Linked DNA regions of Homo sapiens: all the other regions are linked to region 4. Evidence: promoter capture Hi-C in 16 types of primary human blood cells and fetal thymus (Javierre and others, 2016). All regions are on one chromosome and are shown on one strand. Each heading gives the region's core, a stretch centred on a gene start or on the middle of the fragment in contact. The rest is flanking DNA. Distances are from core to core; before and after follow the strand shown. Region 1 has its middle 62 kb from the start of LINC01796. Region 2 has its middle 11 kb from the start of TMEM182. Region 3 has its middle 43 kb from the start of LINC01796. Region 4 holds the start of POU3F3 (POU class 3 homeobox 3).

Evidence for each region. Contacts are between HindIII fragments. The CHiCAGO score rates a contact against its expected background, and 5 or more counts as called.
Region 1: a fragment that was not itself captured here is called in contact with the fragment with the promoter of POU3F3 in region 4 in 1 of 17 cell types (total B cells); the score reaches 6.6 in total B cells.
Region 2: a contact is called between a fragment that was not itself captured here and the fragment with the promoter of POU3F3 in region 4, in 1 of 17 cell types (naive B cells). The highest score is 6.8, in naive B cells.
Region 3: a contact is called between a fragment that was not itself captured here and the fragment with the promoter of POU3F3 in region 4, in 3 of 17 cell types (endothelial precursors, naive B cells and M2 macrophages). The highest score is 12.1, in endothelial precursors.

What each region holds. Positions count from the first base shown.
Region 1 is chr2:102,831,048-102,837,235 of GRCh38, reverse strand. It overlaps a transcript of TMEM182 not described here. Among named protein-coding and RNA genes, the nearest start is that of LINC01796, 62 kb to the left of the region's middle. The HindIII fragment of the contact is 6,439 bases long and covers 343-6,188 here.
Region 2 is chr2:102,747,915-102,753,836 of GRCh38, reverse strand. It overlaps a transcript of TMEM182 not described here. Among named protein-coding and RNA genes, the nearest start is that of TMEM182, 11 kb to the left of the region's middle. The HindIII fragment of the contact is 1,438 bases long and covers 889-2,326 here.
Region 3 is chr2:102,850,258-102,855,879 of GRCh38, reverse strand. No RefSeq gene overlaps it. Among named protein-coding and RNA genes, the nearest start is that of LINC01796, 43 kb to the left of the region's middle. The HindIII fragment of the contact is 1,962 bases long and covers 3,358-5,319 here.
Region 4 is chr2:104,850,336-104,855,800 of GRCh38, reverse strand. POU3F3 (POU class 3 homeobox 3) reads right to left here and starts at 1,686. Exons shown (of 1, transcript NM_006236.3): 1 at 1-1,686. The coding sequence starts at 290. It overlaps PANTR1 (POU3F3 adjacent non-coding transcript 1), which reads left to right and starts at 4,325. Exons shown (of 4, transcript NR_037883.1): 1 at 4,325-4,489. RefSeq lists enhancers at 1,493-2,082, 4,721-5,465 and a silencer at 3,291-3,340. The HindIII fragment of the contact is 8,766 bases long and covers 1-5,441 here.

The DNA.
Region 1 (6,188 bases), core at 2,313-4,812, 2.0 Mb after region 4:
CCCACAAACTTCACCTTCTTATGTCTAACATTTGTTTTTCAAATAGAATTGGGTTGGAACTAATGTTCTAAGAATTAACTATGACATATGAAGAAATTAGAAACACCACAGGGTATCAGAGAACTGGGAGTGGAAACTACCTAAGAAAACAATTAAGGTTGGAGGGAGGTACCATAATAACACAGACCTCTCATCTGCAGCTGGTGTTCAGGCACAGGGCAGGCAACATATTTCAACTGATTGTGAGGCAATGCTAAGTTTTATGTGTTGCACTCAAGAGAGGTCCTGTCTCCAATCAGAGCATTAAATGCATTCAGAAATAAGCACTGGATTGGAGAAGCTTGGAATAGCCATCAGGATTCCCAGTATAAGGCCAAGGACTGAACGCTTTCTATTAATGGCCAACCCTGCCATGACTGAAGGCTGAGAAGTTGTCTGTGGGGCAGCACAGCTGACAGAGGCCGAGTTCTCTTCCTGTGTCCTGCTCTGTGTGGCACTCTGAGTGAGTCCTTTAACAGATCTAGAATCAAGGCCCTCCTTCATAAAAGCAGGGAGTGGACAAGCAAACCAGCACTGAGAACGCCTCTGAACACTTGGCTTTGTGCTTTTTGTTCATGGAATCTTGGGCAAGTTATGCAGCCTCTTTAAACTTGCCTTTACTAATCTGGAAAATGGGAAGACAAAAGCATAGCACTCACCTCATAGCATTCTTATAAGGATTCAATGAGATCATTGTTTAAAGTGCTTAGTCCAGTATCTGGCACTTAAAACACTTCAGCAAAATGAGATACCATTATATACGTATTACAATGGTCAAAATCCAAAAAACAAACAGCATTAAATGCCAGTGAGGATGTGGAACAACAGGCATTCTCATTCATTGCTGGTGGGAATGCAACATTGTGCAGCTACTTTCGAAGATAATTTGGAGGTTTCTTCTAAACCTAAACATATTCTTATCATATGATCCAGCAATTATAATCTTTGTATTTACCCAAATAAGTTAAAATTTGTGTCCCCACAAAAATCTGCACATGGATGTCTATTGCAGCTGTATTCATAATTGCCGAAACTTAGAAACAGCCAAGATATCCTTCACGGGGCAAAGAGAACTGTGGTACCTCCAAACAATGGAATATTATTCAGTGCTAAAAAGACATGAGCTATCAAGCCATGACAAGAAATGGAGGAACCTTCAATGCATATTACCAAGTGAAATAACCCAATCTGAATGGACTACATACTGTATGATTCCAACTATAGAACATTCTGTCCTTGAGAAACCAAACACCGCATGTTCTCACTCATAGGTGGGAACTGAACAATGAGAACACATGGACACAGGAAGGGGAACATCACACACCGGGGCCTGTTGTGGGGTCGGGGGAGGGGGGAGGGATAGCATTAGGAGATATACCTAATGTAAATGACGAGTTAATGGGTGCAGCACACTAATATGGCACATGTATACATATGTAAGAAACCTGCATGTTGTGCACATGTACCCTAAAACTTAAAGTATAAAAAAATAAAATAAATTAAATAAATTTAAAAAAAGAAAATTCTGAAAGGCACAAAGCTATAAAAATGGTGAAAAGATCCGTGGTTTTCAGGGGTTGGGTGGAATAAACAGATGGAACACAGAGGATTTTTAGGGCAGTGAAACAATTCCGTTTGTACTATAATGGTGGATACATTTGTCCAAACCCAACACCAAGACTGTACAGCACCAAGAGTAAACCCTCAGTAAACTATGGACCTTGGGTGGTTATGATGTGTTATGAAGGCTCATAAATTGTAAGAAATGCACCATTGTGGTGGAGGATGATGGTAACAGAGGAGGCTGTGCCTGCGTGTGGGCAGGGAGCACATGAGAAATTTCTATACCTTCTACTCAATATTGCTGTGAACCTAAAACTACTGTAAAAAATGTCAATTTTAAAAATCGAGTCACGATTATTATTATCTAAAAACCCTTCTACCTTTGGATTCCAATGTTACATGTAGCCAAAATATATTTGTTGAATGAAGTTACCATTTGCCAAGCATTTGTATTATCCTGGCCTCCGGTGGTGAATTTGCAGAGATGTCATAATTCTTCCTGCTGCATTTAGCATTTCTACAGCACTTCTCCCTGATCTTGGGTTTTCTGTGAGCTGTTACAATCACTGAGCCTTTCCCATCCCCGCCCCCCACAATTGCTTTGTGTGCAGCTGATTACTATTATTATCCTTAATTTCCAAAGGAGGAAACAGGCACAATAAGTCCTCATCTAGGAGGTGTTATTTGGGCATAAATAACACCTCAGGTGAAACGGGTGAGGCCCAATTTGCATCCTGGCATTAAATTAGAAATAGACCCCAGGAATATTTTATTCCTAAGGTAACAACCGGCAAGTGGAAAACCCAGAGTGATTAACGAAGGATGCTTGGCTTTTGTAACAGCTTGGTAATAAATCGAGAGTTCAAGTCACCTGCTTATATGCTGGACTGCTCTGGACCTGCAGGAGCCCTGAGCCTGTTTTCCTGGTGTGAAATATGTGGTGAGCCTGACCAGCAGACTAAGTATTCAGAGACCCTGGATCTACAACCCACTCTGCACTGTCACAGCCATATGACCTTGGCAAGTCCTTGAACATTGTTAAGCATCAGTTTTGTTTTGTTTTTCTATTTGTAGCAATAACACTCTCATGGATATGCACACCTCCCAAGGCTCACCTATATCTGTTGAAATGAGACGGTGCATCTGAAAGTGGGTTGGAGACCATGGGGCACTGGCAGACGTTTTTACATTCCACTTCACTTCCATCCCCCCATCTTCTAGATTTCTGTTTACAGCAGAGGATCCCAAGAGAAGATCAGAAGGAAAAAAAAAGGGAAATGTTACAATATACAGAAAAAAACAGACGAGTCCTAAGATGGTAAATGGATGAGGGTTTTTTTCTTTACAGAGACTGTTGTGCATGAAGTTTATCAATGGATAATCCTTCAGCCTTAGAGTTAGGCCCACGGCAAAGTAGGGATGGCTATAGGCAGCCATGTCATTGCCAGAGATATATTTAGACCTATATACCTTTGCGGTCACACTTCGTAGAGCAGGGAAATTAAAAATGCAAGCCCACCCAATGACTGGAAACACTGAATCCTTGCTCAAGATATGTATATACTATTTAACTTATGTATTTATTGAACTCATAATTAACATAAGGTTATCTAGGTTCCATGGCTGACCCAGGTCCCATTTACACAAATGGGATAAGTTACTGACTTAGCAGACCTCATCTTAATCAATAGAATCAATGGTGCCATCACCAGAAATAGGATATGTTAATATTTTATGTCCTCTGATGCAATGCGTTGGGAAGGGCACATGGCCTCTGGTGGTATTCTTTCCCAAAATGTATGGCTCCAATCTATCAAAACATCAGACAAATATAAATGAGACATGCTGGACAAAGTCCTTGACCAGTACTCTTCAAATGTTTCAAGGCCATGAAAGACAAGGAAAAACTGAGACATTGTCACAGATGAGAGGAGAATAAGGAGACATTGCAACTAAATGCATGGTGGGATCCTGGACCTAATTCTGGAACAGAGAAAGGATATTGGAGGAAAGACTAGTGGATTCCTAATGAGGTGTGTAGTTTAGTTCTTGGTATTGTACCAAGGTTAACTTAGTTTTGAGAGTTGAACCATGGTTTCCTGGGATGTTAACCTTGGGGAAAATAAATCAGGGTGTGTGTGTGGGAGCACTCCATTCTCTTTGCAACTCCTCTATACGTCTAAATTTTTTCAAAATTAAAAGTTTAAAAAATAAGCACGATGTTTGACCTGATTTTCTAGTCCCCATGCACAATTCCAGGGAGAAATTAGAACTGCAATTGGATCTGGTGATGGGAGGGGGATGATATCTAAGTTGTCTAAATTGAGGCAAAGGCTCAAAATTAACATGGTTGTTATTCCTGCAAAAAGTCTATCTATGACTGATTTATACCAGACTATGAACAAATAACTGAGAATTAGTTCAATAAGCCCCTGCCAGCAACCCTCTTCTCCCTAACCCACCACTCCTCCTCCAACCTCCCACCTGCCTGAGAAAGGGGAGCTCCTCCCTGAAATCATAGCATGTTCCAATTTTTGTGTAAACCACGGCAAAGGCACTGACTCTTTTCTTTTTGCATTGTTCCCATGAAGTGTGCCATTAGGGGCTCAGAATAATAAAGACTGCTGTCATAATTAAGCTCCGGGATGTATTTCAAAGACTCACAGACATTAGAGATGAGAAAGACCCAGCAGGTCATCCAAGCCTGTCTCCCTGCCAGTGCAGGATGGCTGTGTGCAATTTGGAAGATCTGTTATCAGGCTATAAAAATTCTAAACTATTCAAAAAATTACCACATTGTATAAATTATAATAAAAAGTTTACCTTATTCCTGGGCAATTCTTGAGTGTGTGTGTGGTGGGGGAGAAAGTAAGTCACTGAATAGCTTTCTGAAAACAATTACTGTCCTATTTAGAATATATTTTCCAAGGTGAAAGTATGGTTATTTTCTGCTCAATGTGACAGCCTGCGCTTATTGTTATGCAAGAGTTGTCTCCCTGCATCTGATAATTTAAAATTTAGCACTGACCCCAGCTGTCCCTCAAATGATATTATAAATGTGCTTGCAATAGTTCCAACTTCTTCTGGCTTTTATTTAAGTGCTGGACTTGAGCACAGTTGCATAGGATTCTGCCTCTGGCTCAGACATCCTGGCCCCAGTATCTTCGTTCTTTAAGAATAAAGCCTGGAAGGAAACACTTCAAAGGCCTTCAAAGAATGATACTCAAGGCACTGCACCTTATTAAGCTGAGTGAGGTCTTTTTCGATGAGAATTGTGAAATGACTGTGATGTATGTGTTGATTTACAATCCCAGTAGAAATGAACAAAATAACTATAACAATACCAAAAGTAGGATGTAATTTCAAGGGGAAGAATTTAGAGGAATATTGAGGAGAACTACTTAAATGAAAGAGTTAATTTATAGTCCAGAAATACATCCCTGGAATACATTTGAATTCTGAACAAAATGGCATAGTGGAATAAAGAATGTAGGCGGATAGAATCCAGTGAAATACATGACCACTGTATCCATCAAGAATGGCTATCCGTCTCTCACTCTGTCATGCCAGGTATGGGGATATGAGAGCATGGCAATATGAAATATATCAACATTTCCCACTGTCTTCTTGCGTTTTCTCTACTTGGCATACACAATTCACCTTTACATAATACATATGAAACTGTAAGCCTTGTCCTATGAAAAGAAAGAACATTGTCACAAGGAGAATGCCTAGCTCTTCTTTGCCATCAGTTGGTGGTTGGGTGTCCCAAGTTTGCAATAAGTCATGGTGAAGACCCCCATTAAGAAGCATATCCCAAGACCCAGAAGTTCTGCATCTGGCATCCTTCATCACTCTTCTTTTTCTTTTTTTTTTTTAGACAGAGTCTAGCTCTGTTGCCCAAGCTGGAGTGCAGTGGTGCGATTTCAGCTCACTGCAACCTCCACCTCCCAGGTTTGAGCAATTCTCGTGCCTCAGCCTCCCAAGTAGCTGGGACTACAGGCATGTACCACCGCACTGAGCTAATTTTTGTATTTTTAGTAGAGACTGGGTTTCACCATGTTGGCCAGGCTTGTCTTAAACTCCTAACCTCAGGTGATCTGCCCACCTCAGCCTCCCAAAGTGCTGGGATTACAGGCATGAACCACCATGCCTGGCCCACCACTCTTCTTCTTTTAAGATGACTGCATGTTAACACATCGGTCGTGTATGCAGGGTGGATCCTGTTTACCTTTGTGTATCAAACTTTCATTTGTTAGTTGGTTAAAATGTAGAATACATAACAAATGCTGGCAAGGATTGTGGAGAAAAGGGAACACTTGTCCACTGTCAGTGGGAATGCAAATTAGTACAACGACTAGGGAGAACAGTTTGGAGATTCAGCTACCATATGATCCAGCAATCCCACTGCTGGGTGTATACCCAAATGAACAGAAATCAGTGTAATGAAGAGACATCTGCACTCCTATGTTTGTTGCAGCACTGTTCACAGTAGCTAAGATTTAGAAGCAACCTAAGTGTCCATCAACAGATGAGCAGATAAAGAAAAGGTGGACATACACACAATGGAGTACTCTTCAGCCATA
Region 2 (5,922 bases), core at 358-2,857, 2.1 Mb after region 4:
CACAATGCTGTAAGGTAGGTGCTCAGTAAAAATTCAGCTATTCATCTTACTGAGCTTAATTAAATTGGTTTGAATACTGCCACCTGCTGGCCATAGGCAAAATTTGCATTCCAACGAACATTACAGTCAGTTGTTGGGAATTTTTATCTATCAAAAATGAAGAACTGGCTGAGCATGGTGGTTTATGTCTGTAATCCAAGCACTTTGGGAGGCTGTGGAAGGAGGATCTTTTGAGCCCAGGAGTTCTAGACCAGCCTGGGCAACATAGCAAGACCCCATCTCAATTTTTTTTTAAAAAATAAAAATACATATAGTAGAACAACGACTTATTAGTTTCACATTATTTGATGCCGAATAGCCTTAACTAAGATGAGTTCATCTAAGCATCTAGACCCCAATGAATAGTTTACACTGAACATGACTACAGCAAGATCCATAAGCTCATTCACCTCATTAATTTAGGCAGTTTATGCTTATTTAAATTGAGAGTCACCTATACAAGTAATTCACACCAAGGGGGCTTTATAACAAAAATACCCTTCCCTCTGCAAAAGGGTTTGCTATGTAGCTCCAGCCTCTATTTCACAAAGGATTCTATTAATACATTTAAGTATAGTAACTCTTGAAGGCAGTGGGGGGGGGAAGCTTAAAACTCATTTGTTAAAATCCTGCCTTCAAATGCAATAAGCACACAGTAAAACATTTCATAAGCAAAACTGGGGACCAAAGAGTGAAATCATTTAATACAGAATTTGGGGAATTTTAGAAATCAAAATGATGTAACTTACAGAGATAGATCTATTTTATAAACAAATATACATTTTAAACTATTGTAATTTCAATTTAATTTCCTCATTCGTTTAGAGTTAAAATAATTCTTTCTAAGCTTGCATATTACATTTCATAAGCCAGAAGCTGTGTGAATGAAAAGGTTCTCCTCTTCTGTCCTTCAGTTATAAAAGTGCTCTGCACATTTCTTTTGTGCAATGACTTGAGTCTTAATTTAGAGAAAGAAAAATTCTGATTTATCTTTGTCTCTGGGGTATGTTACTAGTTCCTTCTTTATCAGGAAACATGTAATGGACTTGCAAACTCCTTTCCAACTGACTTTCCAGACGAGGTGCTTGTAAGAGGCTCTAATGACCCAGCAAGTTCAGGTCATATGGCCCAAAGGAAAGACAACCTAATCAGTGAGAAAGAGAGTGAAATGCAAGGAGACACGTTGCTGTAACCAGAGTGCCACCATGTCTCCAAGAGGAAACAGCCCTTGCTGTTGCATCACTGTAAAATAGTCAGAAGTGGTCCAGGCAGAGGCCACTGTCCCAGGCCTGCTGAAGGTGCTGCCACAGATTCTACATAGACGGCTCCACAGCTCTCTCCTCACGTTCTGCTCAGCCAGGTCCTTTAAATTCTGCTTAATTATTATACATATGTGGTATGGGGTAAGCACTTAAAAATTAGAGCATATCATGATACCCAAATGACACAACAACTAAATAACAAAAATGTCAAAGGTAACAAAGTAACAATGCCCAACACTTAGGTAGCTCTCACACTGTCTCCAGCTCTGTTCTAAGTGCTTGAGGTTTGTCAGCTCTTTTGCTCTCCACAATCATCCACTGCAATAAGCATCAGGATTGCTCTCATTTTATTGATGAGGAAATTGAGACAACTCTGAATCTCTTTATGGCAGGGCTTTTTGCCCTAAGCACTGTCTATGGACTAAATCCTGTCCCTCTAAAATTCGTATGTTGCCCTAATCCCCGTGGGGCTGTATTTGGAGACAGAACCTATAAGTGGGCAATTATGGTTAAATGAGATCAAAAGGGTGGGCTCTGATCTGGCAAGACTAGTATCCTCATAAGAAGAGGCTGGGCACAGTGGCTCACAACTGTCATCCCAGCACTTTGGGAAGCCAGGGTACGAGGATCTCCTGAGGCCAGGAGTTCAAGACCAGCTTGGGCAAGATAATGAAACCCCCATCTCTACAAAAAATTTAAAAACTAGCCAGGCATGGTGGCATGCACCTCTAGCCCTAGATAGTTGGGATGCTAAGGCAGGAGGATCGCTTGAGCCCTCAGGGGTTCAAGGTGACAGTGAGTTCCAGCCTGGGCAACAGAGTGAGACCCTGTCTCTAAAAAGAAAGAAAGAAAAAGGACATAACGATACAGGAGTTAAGAAGAAGTTATGTAGCAGATAGTGAGGGTAGGAAAGTCCTTGGTAAGGTTTTCCTTTTAATGAAAAGCAGCCCCAAAATCATTTTCTTTGCTAACAAAGAGTAGCCTGTAAAATCAAGCTGCAGACATAGAAGGGCAGGCTGGAAGCTTGCATGGAAGAAAGCCAGCAGCTGTGCCAATAGGAAAGGGCCACCTAGGACTATGCATGTTCAAAATGGCGGCTCCATCTTTCCTTCTCCTTTCCAACCACATTTGCAGTAGGCAGCAGATGACACAGCCCAGGCCAAGTGAAAGCTTATTTGCATAATAAGAAAAGGGTGGGGTGGCCAGCTTCCCCGTGCACTATGTAAACGTCATACCTGGTCCACTCAATCTGTGTGCCCTATGCCAATCAGACACCGCCTCCTCAAGCCTGTCTATAAAATCCGGTGAACTCCGTAGTGGGCCGGAAGACCCACTCGGGCAACCCTCTCTCTCACGAGAGAGAGCTATTCTCCTTTCTCTTTCTTGCGCCTATTAAACCTCTGCTCCTAAACTCACTCCTTGTATGTCCATGTCCTTAACTTTCTTGGCATGAGGCAATGAACCTTGGGTACTACCTCAGACAACAACGTGGCTTCAAAACCAGAGAAATCTCTGAGCATGCACAGTGAAGCAGCTAAATGAGGCCACAGCAAGAAGGCGGCTATATGCAACCCAGCAGGGCAGGCCTTACCAGAAACCAACCCTGCTTGCACCCTGATCTGGACTTCCAGCTTTCAGAACTATGAGAAAATGTCTGTTTTTAAGCCACCTAGTCTGTAGTATTTTGTTGTGGCAGTCCTAGCGGACTCATACATCACTGTGAACACAGTGGGTGGGTAAAAAGGACAATCACACCTCACCCAGGTAGGCACAATAAAAAATACATGCAGAGGTTGCCAAACCACTGTTTCCAAACAGGTTGGAAACCACTGTTCTATGCAATCATCACAAAACTGATTTCTGCAGAGTCTGAGAGAGAATGAGCTGAAGTGACACTCATCCCAGTAGCAGACTCCAAATGTGTTCAAGTTCTTATTCATTCACCCATTGAATACCCGGAAAGACCTTCATAAGGTTTTGACTGTCTGACATTTGGAAGAATGCCCTATTATGGCCAATCAGGGAGATGGACAAAAGGAGGAAATAAAAGATGATTCTGGGAAGGTGTACGTTTGCTTTAAGGAAGACTCAGATGGCAGAATTTCCTTAGGACAGAAGCAACATCGGCAAAAAACAGGTATAGGAATAATGGTCCTACTTACAACCATGGGAGGCACATACAAGCTGGTCTATTTCAGTTTTCAAATCTCATACATTATACAATGATAAAGTTCTGGGAAGGTCTAGCAAAACTTCTGTTATGCCACTTTTTTTTAAACACTGAATTTTTAAAATTTGATAGCAGAAATGCTTAATCTGCTTTCACTAGCAGACCAATAAGCAGAAAGCAACTGCATCAGAGTTCAAACCAGAAAATGGAACATTGGGGAAGCGAAAGTGAATCTGTGCAAGTAGCATACTACTTAAGCAAAAAAATGCTTTTTTTTCATTATTGAGGTATTAGGCAGCCATCTTTTCCTGCTTCATTTAAAAAAAAACATTTATTTATTATAAATTAATTAATATGATCGCCAGATAGAAAACTGAAAAATATGCAAAGAAAGAAAACAAAGGGCAATCTTACCACCTAGACGTAATCACCAGAAACATTTTGAAGTATGTTTTTCATTCCTTGTATTATTCATATAAACATACATCTAATTTTTTTTGTACAGGATGGAAGCAAATATTTGTATTTTTTACATAAAAATTATAATTAATTTTGAAATTTTACAGAGGCAGTTTGTGTTTGAAACTTTATATTGTCATACAAAGGGAAAATGATCTTTTCTTGAACAGGATGAAATTAATTCCATGTGAAATATGTACAGGTATATATATTATAAATGCTCTTTTGTACATAATTATGTACTTTTATGATTCCAAATTGTTTCACACCAGATGATTGGTTCAAAGTTTTCTCTAAGGCACCTTTATTAAGATATAACTAATATACCATAAAATTATCCTGATCAAAGTATAGAAGTCAATGATTTTTAGTATATTTACAGAGTTTCGTGGCCATCACCATAATCTAATTTCAGAACGTTTTCATCTTTCCCAGTAAGAAATTGCCTATTTGCAGTCACTCCTCATTCCCAATTCACCCTCAGGTCCGGGCAACCACTAATCTAGCTTCTGTTTCTAGGTATTTGCCTATTCCATGTATTTCATCTAAATGGAATATATAGAGGACACTCAATATGTGGTCTTTTATGATGAGCTTCTTTCAGTTAGCATAATATTTTCCCCAGTTCATTCATGTTGTAGAATGTGTCACTACTTCATTCCTTATTACTATCTGATATTTTACTGTTTTATATGCTACTAATATTATTAGAAATAATATTATATTTTTAAAGCTAAAGTGTTCTTCTACTTTTTAGAAAATAGGTTCAGGATTTTACATTGTAAACCAAAGTGAGATAAGTAAGAATATAAAGTTTTAATTCTTGGAAATATGTCCAATTTTAGGGTACTAAATTTATCTCTTTAAAATGCATTTAAAATGCATAAATCCATTTATTGTGATAAATTCCTCCAGTAATCTTGGATCTGTGTCATACATTATTTATTTTAGAGTTATCCTTGAACTTGCAGACGTCTTGAAATTACATTCTTCTTTTCCAAAGCTCTAAGAGTGGTGGAGAATCAAAGCTTCGATAACTGGAGAAATAATTTAAGATCAATCTTAATGAAAGAGTAAAAAGAGGGCTGGGTTAGAATTTATGTAAATTTTTCTCAGATAATGTCATTTTTATGTTATCAGCTTAATTTGAGAACTCAGAATAAAAAAGAAAAGACAGAGAAAAAGACGAGAAGAAAATACCCTTTTAACTTAGGAGGTCACAACACTTGTAATGCTTCTTTCTTGACATTGCTAATATCTTACATCAGGAAAACTGAGGTGAAATGCAATTAAGGACTCTGTTTTGTTTATTTTAGTCATAGTTAAATCCAGCCTAGACTAAAAAATAGAATTCAAGCAATTAACAAAAGATAACTTTAGTAAAGTGCCCAGCATAGGACCCACCACATTGCAGATAATCTATTAAAAAGTTATTTTGTGCCTTTTCTCATTCTAACCCGAGTATGTCTAAATTATCTTTAGACCAAAACATACGCTTTATCAAATTGACTTAGAATTATACATAGGACAGAGCAACAGGTTAGGAGCAGTAGGACCAATGACAGCAGCAGTGAGAGGGCCACTCACAGGACTAGATAGACCCAGAGCCAAGAGAACCAGCTGATCAAGGGCATTTCATTGCGGGGCAGATGAACTGTCTGTGGCAGACTATCAGTGTCCATGGATTTCCCATTTTCCTTGGCATTAGATTGGAGCTGCACTTCTGGATTTTGGTTGTTTGTGCCTACACGGAAAGTTACTCCCAATCCAAGGATTTCAAGAATGAATGGGGCTTATCCATCTCTCACTTTGCCTCTGAAGGCAACCTTGAAGATACGAGAGCTACGAAATGGAAGGGGCATGGGCCTCTAAGTCACCATAGGGAAAAAAGCTACCTGGGGGAGTTGCCTGACCTTCGTAGTGTTACATGAGCAAGAAGGAAAAAAAAACACACACACACACTTTCTGTCTTATATCACTGAGGTTTTAAGG
Region 3 (5,622 bases), core at 3,089-5,588, 2.0 Mb after region 4:
GGGAGGGACCCAGTGGGAAGTAATTGTATCATGGGGGCAAGTCTTTCCCATGCTGTTCTCATGATGGTGAATAAGTGTCATGATACCTGATGGTTCTATAAGGAGGAATTGACCTGCACAAGCTCTCTCTCTTTGCCTGCTGCCATCCATGTAAGACATTACTTGCTTCTCCTTGCCTTCCATCACGATTGTGAGACTTTCCCAGCCATATGGAACTGTAAGTCCATTAAACCTCTTTCTTTTGTAAATTGCCCAGTCTCAGGTATGTCTTTATTAGCAATGTGAAAACAGACTAATACAGTAAATTGGTAATGAGAGTGGGGTGCTACTGTGAAGATACTCAAAAATGTGGAAGCAACTTTGGAACTGGGTAACAGGCAGAGGTTGGAACAGTTTGGAGGGCTCAGAAAAAGACAGGAAAATGTGGGAAAGTTTGGAACTTCTTAGAGACTTGTTGAATGGCTTTGCCCAAAATGCTAATAGTGATATGGACAATAAAGTCTGAGGTGGCCTCAGATGGAAATGAGGAATTTGTTGGGAACTGGAGCAAAGGTGATTCTTGTTATGGATGGAAATGAGGAACTTGTTGGGAACTGGAGCAAAGAGACTGGCGGCATTTTGCCCCTGCCCTAGAGATTTGTGGAACGTTGAACTTGAGACAGATGATTTAGGGTATCTGGCAGAAGAAATTTCTAAGCAACAAAACATTCAAGAGGTGATTAGGGTGCTGTTAAAGGCATTCAGTTTTAGAAATTTGTAAGCAACAAAACATTCAAGAGGTGACTTGAGTATTCAGTTTTATAAGAAAAGCAGAGTACAAAACTTCAGAAAATGTGCAGCCTGACAATATTATAGAAAAGAAAATCCCATTTTTTTGAGGAGAAATTCAACCTGGCTGCAGAAATTTGCGTAAGCAATGAGTAACTGAATGTGGATCACCAAGACAATGGGGAAAATGCCTCATGCCTCCAGGGCACATCAGAGACCTTTGTGGCAGCCCCTTCCATCACAGACTGGGAGGCCTAACAGGAAAAAGTGGTTTCATGTGCCAGGCCCAGGGTCCCCCTACTGTGTGCAGCCTAGGGACTTGGTGCCCTGCATCCCAGCAGCTCTAGCCAAGGCTGAAAGGAGCCAACATAGATCTCAGGCCATGGCATCAGAGGATGCAAGCCTCAGGCCTTGGCAGGTCCACTTGGTGTTGAGCCTGCCAGTGCACAGGGGTCAAGAATTGGGGTTTGGGAACCTCTGCCTAGATTTCAGAGGTTGTATAGAAACACCTGGATGTCCAGGCAGAAGTTTGCTGCAGGGGTGGGGCTCTCATGGAGAAACTCTGCTAGGGCAATGCAGAAGGGAATTGTGGGGTTGGATCCCCCACACAGAGTCCCTACTGGGGAACCACGTAGTGGAGCTATGAGAAGCACATTAGACCCCAGGATGGTAGGTCCACTGACAGCCTGCACCATGTGCCTGGAAAAGCTGCAGACATTCAATTCAATGACAGTACATGAAAGCAGCCGGGAGGCGGGCTGTACCCTACCAAGCCACAGGAGCAGAACTGTCCAAGACCATGGGACACCACCTCTTGCATCAGCATGACCTGGATGTGAGACATGGAGACAATGGAGATCATTTTGGAATTTTAAGATTTGACTGCCCTGCTGGACTTTGGACTTGCATGGGGCCTGTAGCCCCTTTGTTTTGGCCAGTTTGTCCCATTTGGAACAGCTGTATTTACCCAATGCCTGTACCTCCATTATATCAAGAAAGTAACTAACTTGCTTTTGATTTTACAGGCTCATAGACAGAAGCAACTTGCCTTGTCTCTGATGAGACTTTGGACTGTGGAGTTTTGAGTTAATGCTGAAATGAGTTGTTAAGACTTTGGGGGACTGTTGGGAAGACATGATTGGTTTTGAAATGTAAGGACATGAGATTTGGGAGGGGCCAGGGGTGGAATGATATGGTCAGGCTGTGTCCTCACCCAAATCTCATCTTCCCATGTGTTGTGGATAGGACCTGATGGGAAGTAATTGAATCATGTAGGCAGGTCTTTCCCATGCTGTTCTTGTGATAGTGAATAAGTGTCATGAGATCTGATTTTTTGTTTGTTTGTTTGTGTATTTGAGGCAGAGTCTCACTCTGGTCACCCAGGCTGGGGTGCAATGGCACGATCTTGGCTCACTGCAACTCGCGCCTCTTGGGTTCAAGCAATTCTCCTGCCTCAGCTTCCCAAGTAGCTGGGATTACAGGCACTCACCACCATGCCAAGCTAATTTTTGTATTTTTAGTAGAGACAAGGTTTCACCATGTTGACCAGGCTGGTCTCAAACTCCTGACCTCAGGTGATCCACCCACCTCGGCCTACCAAAGTGTGGGATTACAGGCACCAGCCACTGTGCCCGGCCAATCTGATGGTTTTGAAACAGGGAGTTGCCCTGCACAAGCCCTCTTTCTTTCCCTGCTGCTCTCCATGTGAGACATGACTTGCTCTTCCTTGCCTTCCACCATGATTGTGAGGCTTCCCCAGCCACATGGAACTGTAAGTCCATTAAACCTTTTTAGTAAATTGCCCAGTCTCGGGTATGTCTTTATTGGCAGTGTGAAAACGAACTAATACACTTGCACTCTCCAAAGAGTGGTCTGCAGACAACCCGGTCTGCTAATTGTTATCAGTTCATGAAGAGAAAGGGGCAGAAAAACAGTTGAGAGTCAGTATTTGCAAATCTTCACAGCAACTTGACGTTGCCATGACATCTGTGTATGTGAGCAGTGGACTCCCTTGCATGAACAAGATTTAGGCTGATCTGGGTGTTGCTGAGCCAATGTACTGAGTCACATCACATGTGGCACTGCATGCTGTCAGGCACAAGAGGACACAGTGGGGCAAGGATCTATGAACCAGTGGCAATTTTAAAACCATATTTTTCACAGCAAATAATTTGAGAAGCACTGATCGTTTACCAGGGTCAGTTTATATGCTACTCTGGGTGGGGGCTCTTGTTTTCCTTTATGGAAAAAGCTACCCTCCCAGAGGCTGGTGCTTTGCAGAGTCTTGCTGCCAAGCCTGTAGACCTAGGATCCCATGCACATGCCAACTGCCCTCTGGCAAGATTATATCTATGGAGCTTGGCTTCTCCAGTGACTAACTGGACAGGAAGGAGACACAGCTTGGAAGTGGAGGGAACATCTGAGAGAGGTGGTAGGTAAATTCTTTTTTCTTTCTCTCTCCAGGTCAGCTCCACAGCACCATAACACACCCTCAGATCTGTTTGCCCTCCTTCTGGACTTCATGTTCCTTTTCCCTCACACAAGCTTCCCAGGGCTTGCATACTCCAATAAAGCATTCACATATAAGCTTTTGCCTCAGGTTCTATTTCTAGAGAACCTGAGCCAAGACATGTACTACGTAAAATGAACCTATGAATGACTATTCTAATGCTTTTGACCGGTGCTTCTCAAAGTGTGACCACCAGACCAGTAGTATCAGCATCATTCACAAATTGTTAAAAATGCAATTCTTGGGTCCCACCCAGAACCACTGAATCAGAAACTCTTGGTGTGAGCCCCATAAATCTGTGTTTTAACAAGTTCCAGATGATTCTGTTTTAAGTTTGAGAACTACTGCTTTACACTGACAATGAGAACCGGAAAATGTTCCTTCTTCTTAAAGTGTATCAATCTGCTAAATCTTAGCTCAAGACTGGACCGTTTTGTAGGCAAAATCCATTATGCTAACTTGACAGTATTATAATAGCATATATCTAGTAGCAAAATGTAACATTTTTATCTTAGTGTGAGATCAACCGAAAAAAGAATGTTGCATAGCACATTTGTTATAACTTCTATCTTTTTAAACCAAACTTTCTTTTATATATTTTTTCATAACTTAGACCCATATAGAGGAAACTTAACCCTCTAAATCATTATCCCTGCCTTTTTAGAACGGAAGCATCATTCTGTTGAGTACTTCATTTATTTTCCTCTCATTGCCTCCTTCCTGGTTGATCTACCCTCCAAAATTGCTATCTAAAGTAGTAACTACTTTGTCTCAAATAAAGCATATTAAAAGTAATGTTTAGGCTTCTGTGACATACCTGGAGATCTATAGAGCTCCCCATGGCTGTGGACATCGATGTTTGGAACCAGTACTCTGATCTACAACACAGACTGCAAATTAAAATCACCTGGGGAATTTTAAAAGCCTACTCATACATTTGGCCCAACCCAAAGAAACTGATATAGTTGGTCAGCATGTGAAACCCAGGTACTTAACATCTATTTCAGAAGACTCATACGAGTATTCTAATGTGTAGCCAGGGTTGCAAAACACTTTGAGTCCAACTGTAGCTCATAGAGTGCTTGATTTTTGCTCCTTGACCTCCTAAGCCCTGGGACAAACACACTGACTATTTCAGGTGTTTCTGCCTTTCCAAGACAACTTAAAAGGAAAGCCACCACTACAACCACCTCACAACAGTCATGAAGACTTCTAGTAAAATCACATTCCGCAAGTTGAAGCCAAAAGACAAACCAGAGTCCTTGTAAAATTACTCTCAAACTGAACCTTCAAAGGATATAGACATCTGGGTTTTGTTAAAAAATAGTTTGCAACCTTCCTATGGAATTTTCATTGTCTTAGTCCCTGCTCAAAGTTGCAGTCAGAGAAAACTTCGTCTCCAATCATCCCAGCCCAGGGACTGCAGCCGGCTGCTCTCCAAGGGCAGAAGGCAGGATGGGAAAGGTGTGCACATTGTCACAGAAGGTGAGCTCTCAGAGTCCATGCAGCTCCTCGGTGCAGTCTCGGGGCCAGGCCGGCTCTGGAGGAGCACTGTCAAGACACAGGTACTCCTGAGCCAACACCCAAGATTCCGCACACCAGCTTTTAGCCTTATCCTGTAGAGTGGCTTGTACTGAAATGTTTGTGTTTGATTCTCACTTTCTATTCCCTTAGTGAAGATCCCATTATCTCTAACAGCTGTGTGTCCAGAAAAAACATGAATTTTGTGTAACAGAAAAGAATCCCATACTTGTTTCTCCAAATAGCCTTAGGAAAAACAATTTAATCTCACTTTCTTTATTTATACTATAAAGACTTTGTGCGGAAAGGGGATAGGTACTTTAAGGTGGGAAACTTTTGAAAGAATGAATTAATCTCTATAAAACAGAAGGAAGTTTATAATTATTACTATTTTTTAACAGCCTGGACCAAAAAAATGGAACAAATGTGCCACTAAAATAGTATTTGAAATTTACCATCTCCAGATAAATTCATAAAGGGGAAGAAAACCAAAAAGGTGACACACACTGCTTGTGTAAGCTTGGAAATTGATTTCCAAAGCATCAGAGCTCACTACAAAAGAACTTCACAGTTTAATTAGGATGGCTGAAATCCAGAGTCTATATTTAGGATAAGCTGGAAATTACAGTGTAGAAATGAGAATCATCTAGCAAGAGCCGAAATGGGGAGGGAGGGTGTCTATGGAAAAATCACCACAGCATTTTTCAGCTAACCATAAAATGTCTTAACTTTGTGTTTCTCTGGACACACACTAAATAATCTCTAATGATTTTACCTTTTCAGCTGAGGAATGTGTGTTTTAAATTTGCCTTCATACATGTTAC
Region 4 (5,465 bases), core at 437-2,936:
CACTGGTGCGCGTGGCTCAGCATATGGCCGCCGTTGCTGGCGGCCATGGCCCCCTGCATGAAGTCGCTCTGGACCATCTTGACAGAGGACGGGTCCCCCCGGTAGGCGCCCGAGGTCACGGCGGCGCTGCCCGGCTGCATGCCGCCGCCCCCGCCCCCTGCGCCGCCCCCGCCGCCGCCGCCGCCGCCACCCCCGCCGCCGCCAGCCCCTGCCGCGTCCGAGTGCACAATAGAGCCGGCCGCGAGCAGGCTGTTCCCCGGCAGGTAGGGGTTAGAAGCCGCCGTGGCCATGCCGCTCCGCTCCCGCCACCCCACCGCCGCCACCACCGCCGCCGCCGCCGCAGCAGCAGCCGCGGCCGCCGCCGCCGCCGCCGCCGCCGCGCCCCCCGCCTCCCGCCTCCTCCCCCCCTCCTTCCCCGCCCCCGCCCCGGGCCCCCGCCGGCCCCGCCGCCTTCGCCGCCTCCTCCTCCGCCGCCGCCTCCGCCCCCGCCGCCGCCGCCGCCGCCGCGGCCCCCGGCTGCAGCTGCAAGGCCGCTCGGCAGGGCGCGGGGGTCGCCGGCCGGCCTTGGTCACCAGCAGCAGCAGCAGCCGCAGGAGCAGCGCTCTGGGGAGGGGGGCTCGCTTCTCGGGGTGCGCTCCGTGGCCACCCCCTTCAGGGGGGGTCGTGGCCGCCCCCCAGCCCCGGCGCGCTGGGCTCGCTCCAGCGGGGCTCGCCGGGCGGGGCGGGGACCTGCACTCGGGGCGCTCTCCCGGGACGCGCGGGCTCCCGCTCCTCCTCCTGTCCTCGGGCGAGCCCGGACTCTGCCCGGTCGCGGGGCTCCGTCCACCTGCTAAGTGAAGGTTTCACGGGAGATAACAAAGAAAGAAGCTGCTCCTTTCTTCCTTAGCCAAATTACGGATGACCAGCAACCGGCCCGCTCCTTCTCTTGTCCGCTCTCTCCTCTCCTCTCCTCTCCTCCTCAGGAACACATTTCACTCGTTTTCCCTTAGAGTAGTAAAACTTTTTCGTCCTTGAAGGCGTGGTGCTGCTGGCTGCTCGCGAGTGCGGAGAGGGGAGGCTGGCTCCTGCTCTCCCCCTCTGGTCCTCTCGTTTCAAGTTTTGTTCTGTCCTAGGAAAACTTCTTGCGATGGTGCATTTCTCTGAAGTTGCTATTGCCGGAGCTCTTGGTTGCCTCTGAAACAAGAGTCCTTTTTCATTCTCCTCGCAACAGTCACAGTCTGATGCGACATCTTTCCTTTTGGGCAGAAATTAGGAAACAAATATAACAAGGAAAAAATTGAACAGGAAAAAAAATGATGTCGAATCGCTCTGTTACCTTGTTGCTGACGGTTGGGGTTGGTGTTTTATTTTTTTCCCAGCAGTTGTCTGGAGAAGGAGGAGGAAGAAGAGTGCATTGGTGGAGGTGGAGGTGTGTGTGTGCATATAGGGGATCGATCCTTGATACACAACAACTCCAGTGGGCACGCTGCACGGCTCGTAGAGTGCACCGACGGCGGGCGCTGGCGCTGGCCGTGCTGGAGCAGAGTTGCAGCAGGAGCTCGCTCTGCGCCCTCGTTCGCGCTCTCTTTCCCTCTCTCACTTTTCCTCTCCCTCCCTCTCTCTCTCTCCCTCTCTCGGGCGCCCGCTCTCGCTCCGATCTGACAGTTCGCTCTCTGTCCCTCCCTCTCAGAGCGGGGACTGTCGAATGTTTACCCTCCGCCGCGAGCGCGCACCCACCACCACACTTTCCCAAATACAAGGAAGTCGAGCACCAGGGCCCCCGCTGATTGGCTACCCGCTGGGTGATTGGCAGGCTCGGAATGACTGGCTCAGGACGCGAGGCCCCCCTTCCGGCCGTTCCGATTGGTTGCTTTTTAATTTAGGCAGAGCGTCGTAGAAGCTGGAAATCTGTCGTCCTCCAGCCTCCCTCCCCCTCACCACTTTCCCCTCCCCGCCCCTCCCCCGCCGCCCCCTCCGCCACATCTTAACTCTTAGTGTCCGGCCCAGACGTTGGCGTTCCCTCGGCGGCTCTGGGCGTTCGCAATAGGTCTGGGCGGGGGGAAGAAAGGGGAGATAAAAGGGAGGGAGGGACGAGAGGGGGGAAGAGAATCAGAAGGAAAACGAAGGGGGAAACATGAAAAATAGCAACCTGCCCACCCCACCTAGTACGCGTCGGGTTGCTCACCCCCTTACCCCCGCCCCGCCAGAGATTTGTAAAGCGCGCGGCACGGATGTACCATTCAAGCTAATACCTATAGACAGATGTGTCCCCAGTGGTTTCAAAGTTTCCTCTTCCCTTCACCAGCCGGCCCCCTTCTCTGATCGGCGGGGGTGGGAAGCGGGGGCTCGCATCGCCAAGAGCTCTGGTCGTGGCCACGCTCCTTGGAAATCCGCCACCGCAACTTTCCGCAGCCGTTGCGCGCCGGCGGCAGCCCCCTTTGTTTAAGTTCTCGGATGCCATCATCTGGGAAACCTGCAGCCCAGGACCAGCGCGGTGCCCGCGCGTGCGAGACGGACCGCTCGCTGCCGCCGCTCCCTGGCTCCTCCACCCCCTCTCTCCCTCCTTCGCTCTCCCTCCCTTCCTCCCTCCTCCCTCCTCTGGGATTCGTGCAAGTAGCGTGCGTGCCCTTGTGAGTTTGGAGGGTGCCGGTCAGCGGAGCCGTGCGATGTATTTGAAAAGCAATCAGTCCGACCTTCCCCCATAGATTCATCGTAAGTGTATTCGACCCCAATGGCTTTAGGAATTCCCTGTGGCAGCAGGAGCCGGGCGAAAGAACCGGGATCGGCTAGCCGCGCCCTTCTCTGCTCCACCGCTTCCTCGTGTGTGTGTGTGTGTGTGTGTGTGTGTGTGTGTGTGATTAGCGGTGGGGGGGTTTGCTCGCTCTCTATTCTTAGGCATGGTGGTGCTTTTTTTTCTTTCCTTTCTGTCTCAGATGGATTTGCGTGGTGGATGGGGCTGGCGGCGACAAATGCTTTCTCAGCTCTAACCCAGCTGAAAGAGTTAAGGGGGATGGGAGGGGGAGTGCACCCGGTAGGCGAGAGAAGCGGGGGTGGGGTGGGGTGGGGTGGGGGGACGCGGCCAAGCGGAAACGCTGCACAGAGGAACCTCAGCGAACCAAGAAAAAAGAGAAAGTGGCAACGAAAACAAGGGCAAATTGAGCCCTCCTCGGGGATTTCCAATGAACTAACCCAACTCGGACATTCAATAAATACATGGCTCTTAATGAGCGTGCGTGTGCGTGCACCCCGCACCCCTAGCTGCGGGTGCGCCCGCTTGCGCCCGCCGCCCCCAGCCAGAGCCTGCATCTGGCAGTCCCGAGCCCGAGCGGCAGCCCAGGACGCAGCCGAGGAGCGGCCGCCGGTGCGCTCCGATTAAAATGTGAACGGGCCTGCCCTTCTCTCCCGCTGTATCGTGCCTCTGCCGAGCGCAGTTAAGTGAACTCAGTGAAAGCAGGAGTTCTCCTGCCCAGCCGCAGCCAGGCAGCCCCCGCGTGATCTCAAGATTAACACTAGACGCGTAGAATTTATGTAGGCTCTTGTCCAGCTCCTGCTTGCCGGGTGAGATACCATCGTAGGTAGGTTTTAGCAAAGCCATTATTGCCAAGGTATAGATACCAAAGGCGGTGGTAACCAAACCCCAAACAGAACGGATTTTTTTCCTCTGCGGCCCCCAAAGGTTGCTTTTTATATTTACGTATGCGTATATGTATATATAAAAGATGGAACACAGATTTCATTGAATCAATCTGAGATCTCCAGGTGCAGACGTTTGAATAGTCGGTGCCAGCACCCCGTGTTTTCCTTTCCTGCCGATTTTGCTTGGATCCGGCTCAAAAACCGAGAGAGTCTCGTGGTTTTGTTTACACTGAATGGGGAGGATAGGAACAGAGCCATGGGGCCGCCTTTCATTAATATACAGTGAGGATTTTGTCTAAATTACTGCTATGAATTTCACAGTACACGCTTTCAAAAGCAGTCTCAGGTGGCCTGATGAAACGTGATAGCGCCTCTGCAAACAGATCCACTTTCTTTCTTTTCAAGAGGGTGTGTGTGCGCGTATGGGAAGCCCCCCAAAACGTTGTGCTCCTCGATAACAGAAACACACTTCTGTTCCGAGGTCTGTCCCCTTCTTCCTCCCCCCCTTTCGTCGTACTTAATTCTCGAATCGCTCCCCGGCCTCTCTCCCCCCTCCACGCTGCCCCACCCCATCCGCCCCCTCCCTTTGCGAGTGTGATTGTTTTGTCTGGAAAAAAAAAATCCAAAGTATATAACAAGGGGAGAACAGTTAGTGCTGATTTTCATTTGCATACATTTTCATATATTTTGGTGAAAATAATAGACTAGTGGAGAGCTGGGCTTCGAGGCGTCAGTGTGAAGGGAAGGCTAAGGACGCATCGGTGCTGGAGAGTTGAGAATATGCCTTCCCCTCCACCCCCAACCCAGTCACCTTATTTGAAAAAAAATTAAAAAACACCTTTTATTTAAAAACCTAACCCTGGAAGTTTGCTCGGTAAGTGTTTTTTCATTTTCTTTCCCTGCTTTCCTCTTCTTTTTCCCCTCCTTTTTGGCTTATTTATTTATGTTCTTGTAGGTTTGGGAGCTTATTTTCATTGCTTGGGACAAGAGAGGGTTCACAGAGCAACTGTCTGAAGGAAGGAAGGAAGGGAAGATGTGTTGGGGGGGAGTTAAAAAAATCCAACCCTGCTAAAATATTACATAAAAAGATGGACTCAGTCCAAAGCCCCACACAGCAAAAGCCACTTTACTTTGGAGGGGTGGGGGGAAAATGCTATTCATTGTAATTGTTGATCGTGAAGGTGGGGTGGGAGGAGGGGGAAGAAGCCCTGGAAAAGAAGTGATTATTAAGCATGCAGTATATAAATATTTCTTGATTGGGATTTTTTATTTTTCCCAGAGAATCAGGACTAGAGGGGAAGAAACCCTATTTCTGTAGCCAGTGGTGATGTCCTGAATTGTGTGTGCCTGCCTGGATTGGGGTGGGGGGACGCATGCTGGGAGCAGGAGGATGGAGTGAGGAGGGGGACTTGGCAAAGGGAAGGCGGAGAGCTGGAGGAGGAGGAAGCGAGGCAGGAAGTCAGGGCACCCCTGGTTAATGCTGTGTCTGGGGAGCAGGCGGGGAGCTGCAGCCTCCCAGCTCGGTAGTGAAAGCCCATCAGAAAGAGGGTGATCAATCAAAACTAACCAGGACATCCCTACACTTCATTCCCAAAGGAGGCTGGAGCTTTAGCATCGCAGACTGGATTTCACTTTGTTTTCTATTTTTGACAGCCTCACTTGTCCCCTCCTTGCCACTGTTCCTGGGTTTTGTAAAAATTGAGGGTGCAGTTATTGCTAGGTGCAGTTAATTAGATAAACATGGCCGGAGGACATAGCTAGGCCAAGTCCAGGCCCATTTGAGTGCCTTACCTTAGTGAAATAGGCCGGAGAAAATTTTAAAAGCTTCTTGGTTTTGTTCTTTTAAGGGA